2 separate regions of the Homo sapiens genome follow, and region 2 is linked to region 1. Evidence: promoter capture Hi-C in human tissues and cell types (Jung and others, 2019). All regions are on one chromosome and are shown on one strand. The core of a region is centred on a gene start or on the middle of the fragment in contact, and the rest is flanking DNA. Distances in the headings are between cores, read along the strand shown.

Evidence for each region. The method cuts DNA at HindIII sites, captures the fragments that hold promoters and counts their contacts. A contact is called where the count stands out against the background at its distance.
Region 2: a fragment that was not itself captured here is called in contact with the fragment with the promoter of NCR2 in region 1 in 1 of the 25 tissues and cell types used here (mesenchymal stem cells).

The regions. Positions count from the first base shown.
Region 1 is chr6:41,332,731-41,337,023 of GRCh38, forward strand. It overlaps NCR2 (natural cytotoxicity triggering receptor 2), which reads left to right and starts at 2,878. Exons shown (of 5, transcript NM_004828.4): 1 at 2,878-3,198; 2 at 3,357-3,698. The coding sequence starts at 3,147. RefSeq lists an enhancer at 1,496-1,625. The HindIII fragment of the contact is 17,500 bases long and covers 1-4,293 here.
Region 2 is chr6:41,773,073-41,777,144 of GRCh38, forward strand. FRS3 (fibroblast growth factor receptor substrate 3) reads right to left here. Exons shown (of 7, transcript NM_006653.5): 3 at 3,850-3,938; 4 at 2,347-2,533. The coding sequence starts at 3,915. Among named protein-coding and RNA genes, the nearest start is that of FRS3, 4.8 kb to the right of the region's middle. The HindIII fragment of the contact is 6,444 bases long and covers 1-4,072 here.

The sequences.
Region 1 (4,293 bases), core at 1,628-4,127:
TCCCTCTGACCTCTCTGGCAGGGAAAAAGCTGCTCTGAGACCAGATGCTTTGAACCTGGCATCCTGGGACCAGGAAGGGCCATTGTTATGGGACCATTGTCATGGGAGCAGGAATAACCCTGTCAGGGCAATTGATGACTGAAGGATCCTGCTGGAGCTGGGGCAGAGAGCCATTGGGGTCAGAGGTATAAGCAGACTTGTTGGGGTTCAGGGAGAAGACTCCTTGGATCTGCAAAAGGCAAGCCTGGATGAAGAGTAAGGAAGTGCCCATGGAGAATCTCTGAGCCCAGGAGGAGCACCAGGTCAGGAGAGAGGAGGCCTGGGTGCTAGTCCTGGTTTGGCCCTGAAATAGCTGAGTGACTGTGGAAAGGCTACTTGCCTTCTCTGGACCTCATCTCCCTCAGTTGTGAAATCAGCACTGAGAGAAATTCCCTTTTGTCCCTGCTACTTCTGGTTCTATCATGGGGGAAATTTACAGCTACCCCTTCACCCCTGCCCAGCCTAGCTTAGCCCTGTGCTGCGTTTTGGGGATCACCTCCAGACCTCTACGGCTCCCTGCTTTCCCCATTTCTGCATCAGAGGCCAGCCCTCCCTTCCCATGGACCTACCCAGGCTCGGAGCCACTGTTGCAGGCTAGACTGGGCCTTGCTAGAAAAGCAAGTACATGAAGTCTCCAGCTCTCCCAGCTCCTTCTCTGGGTTCCTGTGAGTGTGTGTGACAATGAGTTTGGGAGAGGAGGTTGCTGAGGTTCCCAAGTTCTCTGAGGGACCTTCTCAGAGGGTGGGCAGGGAACCCAGAATCCCCCAGAACCCCAGGCTCTTTGACAGGACTTTGCTGTGCCCTGCTCTGATCGTGCCAAGGGGGAGGCACTATCCCTAGCTCTTCAAGAGACTTCTGAAAGGGCCCCAGATCCCACCACAGCTACCTGCCCCAGTCCCTCCTGCAGAAATTCAACTTGTGACAAGGGCTGTTGTGGGTCCCCAGGGAGCAGGGCCAGTCCCAGCCTGGATGAGGGGCTGCCTAAGCCCAGGCTTCCCTGCCCCCAGGTCCCAGATGCCAGAGGAAGCTGAGCGTGCAGATGGTTCCAGCAGGGGCCTCCCCCTAGGGTGCTCAAGGCCCCAAGTCTATGTGGAGGGTGCCCACCCCACTCACACAGGTGGGGAAGCCACAACACAGAGAGAGGGGCAGATTCCCCGCTTTGAGAGCTCCTGTCCCCTGGGGAGAGACGACACACTCTGACACAGCAGAGAACGATACAGAGCTGGCTGCAGGCTGAAGAGACACACAGCTAGTGGCACATAGCAAGGGGTGCTCTTGTAAGCTACAAGAAGGAGCTGTCACTTAGAGTCAGCAGGGGTCAGAGAAGGGGAAAGTCAGCATGGGAACACAGTTGCTGACACACACACACACACACACACACACACACACACACACACGGTGACGTGCCTCGGTGCCATCTGAGGACAGGGCCGCCTTCCTCCCCCTCGGGAGGATGCCCCCACCCTGATTTGGTATGTAATTATGTTCAGGGAGAAGCTGGGCCCCACTGTCGGCGAGGAAACCCCCTAAAAGCTCACCTCCGCCTGTGTGTGCAATTCAGTGGGAGCCTCTTTCTCACCCCTGGTTTCCTGTCATGTCTGTGGGTCGCATTTCAACCAGACCAGCCGGAAGGCTCCAGACCGAAGTCAGGAGGCCTGTTCTGGTCCTGTGTGACTCTGAGCAGGTGGCTGACCATATCTGGGCCTCAGTTCTCACATCTGTGAAAAAGAGAAGTAATGTCTCCCTCGCGAACCTGCTGAGGGTCTTGAGAAAGTGTGCATGAGAATGCTTTGTAAATAATGCTTGTGTGAGTGAGTGGCGGGCATCGCTCCCTGAGCTGTCTTCTAGCTCTGGAGCTCCAGCCTGCTTTCCCACCTTGGGCCCTTGGGCGCCAACATCTGATAGCCCTACTGTGTCCTCCTTTTGCATACCCCTCTGCCTTTCCCATTCTCAGTCTCTGCATACTCCTACTGTAAGGAGAAGGGCAGTGTACTGAGATGGAGTGGAGAGCAGGAGTCCAGGGGCAGGCAAAGCAGTGGACTTGGAATCGAGTCCACTTGACAAGTTCCAATTCCCGTCTCAGTTATTACCTCTGTTCACAGAGCTCCCGGCAGCAGATCGCCAGTCCAGCAGAGCCCCCAGTGGTGCAACTGCAATTACACACAGTGTCTCTACCAGTCCTAAGATATATTAGCTCGTTCTCTTTGTAAATTGCATCGTATTTTAAAACTGAATCTTCAAAGTGCTGACATTAACTAAAGAAAAATATGCTAGAGTCTTTCATCTGTTTATGTTTTAATTAAACAATATTTCTCCAGGGTCCTTAAGTGGCAGAGGTCCAGGATGCAGAGATGAGGCCAGGTCCTGGTTCCTGGGCTCCCTCTACCCCACCCCACTGATGCATCCCATGCTCCGTGTGCTCTTCCCACCCTCCCCTCCCCGACCTTTGCCAGGGACCCTCCCTAGCCTCCCTTGCTGGTTTTGAATCTCCACCTCCTCTCCCCTCTCCTTTCCCGCACCCACGAAACTCCCAGAGTGGAAGCACATCACTGACCCACCATGGAGGCCTGGGCATGACGTCCCTGGCCATCCTGTGACCAGTGAGGCTTGGGGCTTGTGATCAGGGTTCCAAGTGCCCCTGAGTTTGTCATCCACCCTCAGCCTGCCTTTCCCTGGAAAGGGCGGCAAAGCTAGGGCCCTGCAAAGAAGAGAGGCAGCACACAGAGGGAGCAAGGGGGAAGCAGTCCATAACTCGCCCACAGTTTCCTCCTGGCCTTTTCAGCTCCTCCCTCAGGGGTAGGTCATGGTGGGGAGGGGCAGCTGGGCACAGGGGAGAGCAGGCATCTTCTACAGAGGCCTGGGAAGCTGTGTGCCAGACAGCGCCGAGCCCACCAGACCCAGACTCACCTACAGCTGGAGATCCCCACTTCCCTGTGCCCACAGAATCTGCCCTTTGCAGTCTCCCATCTCCCCAACCCAGGCCTCAGCCTGTCTCATTTTTCTATCAGACGTGCTGGAAGAGCAGCAGAATCAGGCCCAGCTCCCAATTCCCTCTCCCCAGTCTTCTCCAGGTGTCCCCTCCCATGAGCGCACAGGAAAAGGACCACATGGCCTGGCGAGCCCTACACCCACTGCTACTGCTGCTGCTGCTGTTCCCAGGTGAGGGGGAGGAGGAGCCCAGGGAGCAGAGGAGATGGGTGTGGTGGGGACTGTCAGGACAGCAGGGTCAGGGAGCAGGTGGCTCTGTGGCCAGAGGCCTGCTGTGAGGCAGGTTGTGCGCGTGGCCTTGACCTATGCGTTACTTCATCATTCTCCAGGCTCTCAGGCACAATCCAAGGCTCAGGTACTTCAAAGTGTGGCAGGGCAGACGCTAACCGTGAGATGCCAGTACCCGCCCACGGGCAGTCTCTACGAGAAGAAAGGCTGGTGTAAGGAGGCTTCAGCACTTGTGTGCATCAGGTTAGTCACCAGCTCCAAGCCCAGGACGATGGCTTGGACCTCTCGATTCACAATCTGGGACGACCCTGATGCTGGCTTCTTCACTGTCACCATGACTGATCTGAGAGAGGAAGACTCAGGACATTACTGGTGTAGAATCTACCGCCCTTCTGACAACTCTGTCTCTAAGTCCGTCAGATTCTATCTGGTGGTATCTCCAGGTGAGCTCTTTCCCTAGGGTCCTCAGAGGGGTGCCCCTCACCCCCTTTTGGTGCCTCCATCACCCCTGGTTTCCCAATCGTGGAAGCCACCCATGCCCACGCCCCAGTCTCCTGGGAAGGCTGTTGGGAACAGGTGCAGGGGGAACTCATATGTGCACAAGAGCAGCCATCTCACAGTCTGCATGACTCCCAAGCCTGCAGCCTGGGCCTCCTGAGAGATGCTGAAACAGACCCGGTGAGCATGCTGACCAGTCAGCCTATATGACCCTGCTACAGGAGGGCAGGACCACCCGGCATCTTTGGTACATAGTAGGTGCCCAGGAAAGGTGCATCCACTGGCTGCCCCCACCATGTAGAGCCAGTGGTATCTGGGTAGTCTAGATACCAAGATACTATGGGTATCCCTCATAGTCCAGATCGGGGACTAAGAATGAGTGAAAAAAACTAAGAATGAGTGAAAAAAAATCAAAAGAAAAACAATATTTTGTGACATACAGGAAATTCAAATTTCAGTGCCTATAAGTGGAGTTATTTTTTGGAACACAGCCATGCCCACTCAATTACCTATTGTCTGTGGCCCTTTTCATGCTGTGAC
Region 2 (4,072 bases), core at 825-3,324, 440 kb after region 1:
CAGGAGAGCCTCTCCTCATCTTGAGCATTCTTTTTCTTTTCTTTTTTGAGATGGAGTTTTGCTCTTGTTGCCCAGGCTGGAGTGCAATGGTGCGATCTCAGCTCACTGCAACCTCTGCCTCCCAGGTTCAAGCAATTCTCCTGCCTCAGCCTCCCAAGTAGCTGGGATTACAGGCGCCCGCCATTACACCTGGCTAATTTTTTGTATTTTTAGTTGAGACGGGGTTTCACCATGTTGGTCAGGCTGGTCTCAAACTCCTGACCTCAGGTAATCGGCCTGCTGCGGCCTCCCAAAGTGCTGGGATTACAGGCGTGAGCCACCACGCCTGGCCCTGAGCATTCTTTCTAGGTCTGCTCTAGAATCCAAGAGCTACTAGAAAGGCTGGGTCCAAGGTACCCTGCCCCAGCACGCCCACACCACATTGAACACTCCAGCTATATTGCTCTGAAGCGAAATCATTTTCATAAGGATGTGTGTGTTCAGGGGTCACAAGAAGAGAATCAAAACCAAAGTGGAGGCCGGGCATGATGGCTCACGCCTGTAATCCCAGCACTTTGGGAGGCCGAGGAGGGTGGATCACCTGAAGTCAGGAGTTCAAGACCAGCCTGGCCAACATGGTGAAACCCTGTCTCTACTAAAAATACAAAAAATTAGCCAGGCGTGGTGGTGAGCACCTGTAATCCCAACTACTCAGGAGGCTGAGGCAGGAGAATTGCTTGAACCTCGGAGGTGGAGGGTGCAGTGAGCCGAGATTGTGCCACTGCACTTCAGCCTGGGTGACAGAGCGAGACTCTGTCTCAAAAAAAAAGAAAAAAGAAAAGAAAAAAAACAAAACCAAAAGCCAAGGTGGAAAGGATAGTATTAGATGAGTGAACATTCTTCTTTTATTTTTTCGGAGACGGAGTCTCACCCTGTTGCCCAGGCTGGAGTGCAGTGGTGCGATCTCAGCTCACTGCAAGCTCCGCCTCCCGGGTTCACGCCATTCTCCTGCCTCAGCCTCCCAAGTAGCTGGGACTACAGGTGCCCGCTACCATGCCCAGCTAGTTTTTTGTATTTTTAGTAGAGACAGGGTTTCACCGTGTTAGCCAGGATGGTCTCGATCTCCTGACCTCGTGATCCGCCCACCTCAGCCTCCCAAAGTTCTGGGATTACAGGTGTGAGCCACTGAGCCCAGCCAGGTGAGCGAACACTCTACCTCACATGCTTCCCCCATCTTCCTCTGCCTAACACCCCCTGCTTCCTAGGAAAAAAAACTCCATCCAGAGCACCAGCCCTCAGATCGCTGATGACAAGAGGGTCTACTCTGTTCCCTGCTTCTTCACTTATTAGCCCAGTGTGTGGCCAGAAAGCAAATGCCTACTGTATATAGGTCCCTAACCTCATAGATTAAACTCTGGCACGGGAAGGAAGAAATCATGGGCAGACTAGCTAAAGGCAAACATGGCAAGGCAATCACAAGGCTCCTCAATGCAGCCAGCCTCACAGCCCTTCAAATTGCAACACTGCAACTCAAGGTCCCAGGAACAGCAGGACTGGGCTGAGTGTCTGTCAATCAGGGGACTCAAAGATGCCCTTGGGGTACTGGGCCAGCATGGACTCCTCTGTAACAGGGGGACCTGGGACCTAGGGGAGGCTACGTGGGGTGTGCCTGTGCATATACCCACAACTAAGACACAATTAGCCTGGGGAATGGGACAACTATGGTTTGCACAAATAGGATGGGGAGGAAACAGGGAAGAAAAATAACTACTCTGGCAAAATATGACGAGAAGTAGAAAAGACTGGGAAAGACTGGAGTTGTAGAGAACCCCGTGTTGGGGCCAGGGGTAGCCCCTCTGGGAACCCAAGTGTAGATCAAACATCACTAGGAGCAAGGATGCCTCTGCCTGCTCTGCCTGCTCACCCAGCGCCCCTGCCTCTGCCTCATGAATTCCAAAGGTAAGATGCATGGAGGGAAGTCTCCTCCAGCAAACATGACCTCGGAGGCTCACTATTTTGTTGGCAGCCTCATCAGAGAAGCTTGTTCATTCCACCTCTGCACAGCCATAATCCCAAACTGCACTGAACACAATCCCATGCAGGATTCCTTTTGCACAGCTTAAGTCTGGATCCTAAGAGATAAACTCAGACCATGCCACTTCTTCAGAGAGCTGTGGCTGGCTCTAGCCTTGACCTTATGGAATAACCTACCACCCCTGACCTCTGACTGCAGGGAGAATACATCACACTCTACTGCCCACAGGTGATGGGGATAACACTAACCTCTTGAGGGCTAACCTATACATTAGGAACCCTGGAGTACTGCATAAGCCCCTATCCCAGGGTGGAGCAGGGCCTGGTACTCACCCTGGCCTGTCTGACATCGGCGGCCACTCTCAAAGGAGAAGAGGTTGGAGTCGTAGCCATAGCGCCGCAAGCAGAGATAAGGCCAGCGGACGGCCTCACGCCGATGCAGGTGCAGCACCAGCTCACTCTGCGTCAGCTCCATCACCCCAGAGCCCAGCTCCACCCCCTCATCATCCACATTTGTCACCTGGAGGGGAGAAGACAGAAGGGTCAATGAGTGAGTCCAACAAGTGTTTGCATGGGTCCCTGAGCCACTGGGAGACAATCTGATGCAGGACAAGAGGTGGGGAACCAAAGGTCACATCCGACTATCACAGACTCTACTGAATGCCACATAACTACATGAAGCAGTGCCATGGACCCACGGCAGTTCTCTGGGCAAATCCTACTTCTCTAGTGCTGAGTTTTGTCATATGGACAGTGAGGGAAGAGGTAGGTAGCTGACTTCCAAGGTCGGTTTGTTAGATAACAAATGTTAGACGACCCTAGACAGCCCATGCCTTAGTATCCAAGGGCCAGATGTTAATGGGGAAGGGGTTCAATTGTAAATTCAAAATCTTGAGACTGGGACACCCTGACCTAGGAAAGTCAAGCCCAAGGCAGAACCAATGCACATCTCCTCTACCACCTCCCCAACTGTGTGCCCTTACTGAGGGCTCCCTCTTCTGGTGGGCAGGAGAAACATGTGCTTCAACATGCCCCAGAATGAGGAAGGAGGAGGCTCCCTCTACAGAGAGGTGGGCAGGGGAGAGCACAGGTCGACTTGGGTCTGCCCTCAGCTTCCCACAGCAAACAGCAAACACTGATGTTGTGCTTACTGTGTGCTAAGCACTATTTAATTTATTTATTTATTTATTTTTTGAGATGGCATCTCGCTCTGTCACCCAGGCTGAAGTGCAGCGGTGCAATCTCAGCCCACTGCAACCTCCACCTCCCGGGTTCAAGTGATTCTCCTGCCTCAGCCTCCCAAGTAGCTGGGATTACAGGCGTGTGCCACCATACCTGGCTAATTTTTGTATTTTTAGTAGAGACGGGGTTTCGCCATGTTGGCCAGGCTGGTCTCGAGCTCCTGACCTCAGGTGATCCGCCTGCCTTGGCCTCCAAAAGTGCTGGTATTACAGGTGTGAGCCACCGTGCCTGGCCACTAAGCACTATTTTAAATACTTTACGTATATTAACTCACAAATACAGAATTTTGTTTTCTCTAAAAAAAAAAGGGGGGGGGATATATAAAGTTATAAAAATACACTGACAACAGTTCCAAAAGCACCATTATGGCATTTCTTCATTCTTGGTAGTATCAAGAGCCATGAAAACAGCAGTGGTCTGGGCCTCTTTTCCTCAGGCTACTTGAGAGGGTGTGAGCTCAAGAAGTCTCCATAAGCCCACAACCTCAGCCTGGCATTTGATTTGCTGTTAGAGAAGCTGAGGCAACTCCATTAAATTGTGTCTGAGCCCAAGAGGCCATGTTGGGAACACAGGAGAGGAGAGGGCTCTGGGTACCTTGAACTTGGTGGGGTGGTTGTCTGGAACGCTGTCTCTGTTCAGGCAGCTGCAGCAGCTCCCCATGGTGTCAGAGCAGCCAGCCTGCCCTAGGAAAAACATACAGGATATGCAGGTCACCAACTTCAGCTTCAAAAAACCCTGCTCTGGGGAACTTGGGCAGAAGCACGTCATTGTGATCACCTACTCTGTCCAAGAGACTGTGTGATACAGACCCCCCCTC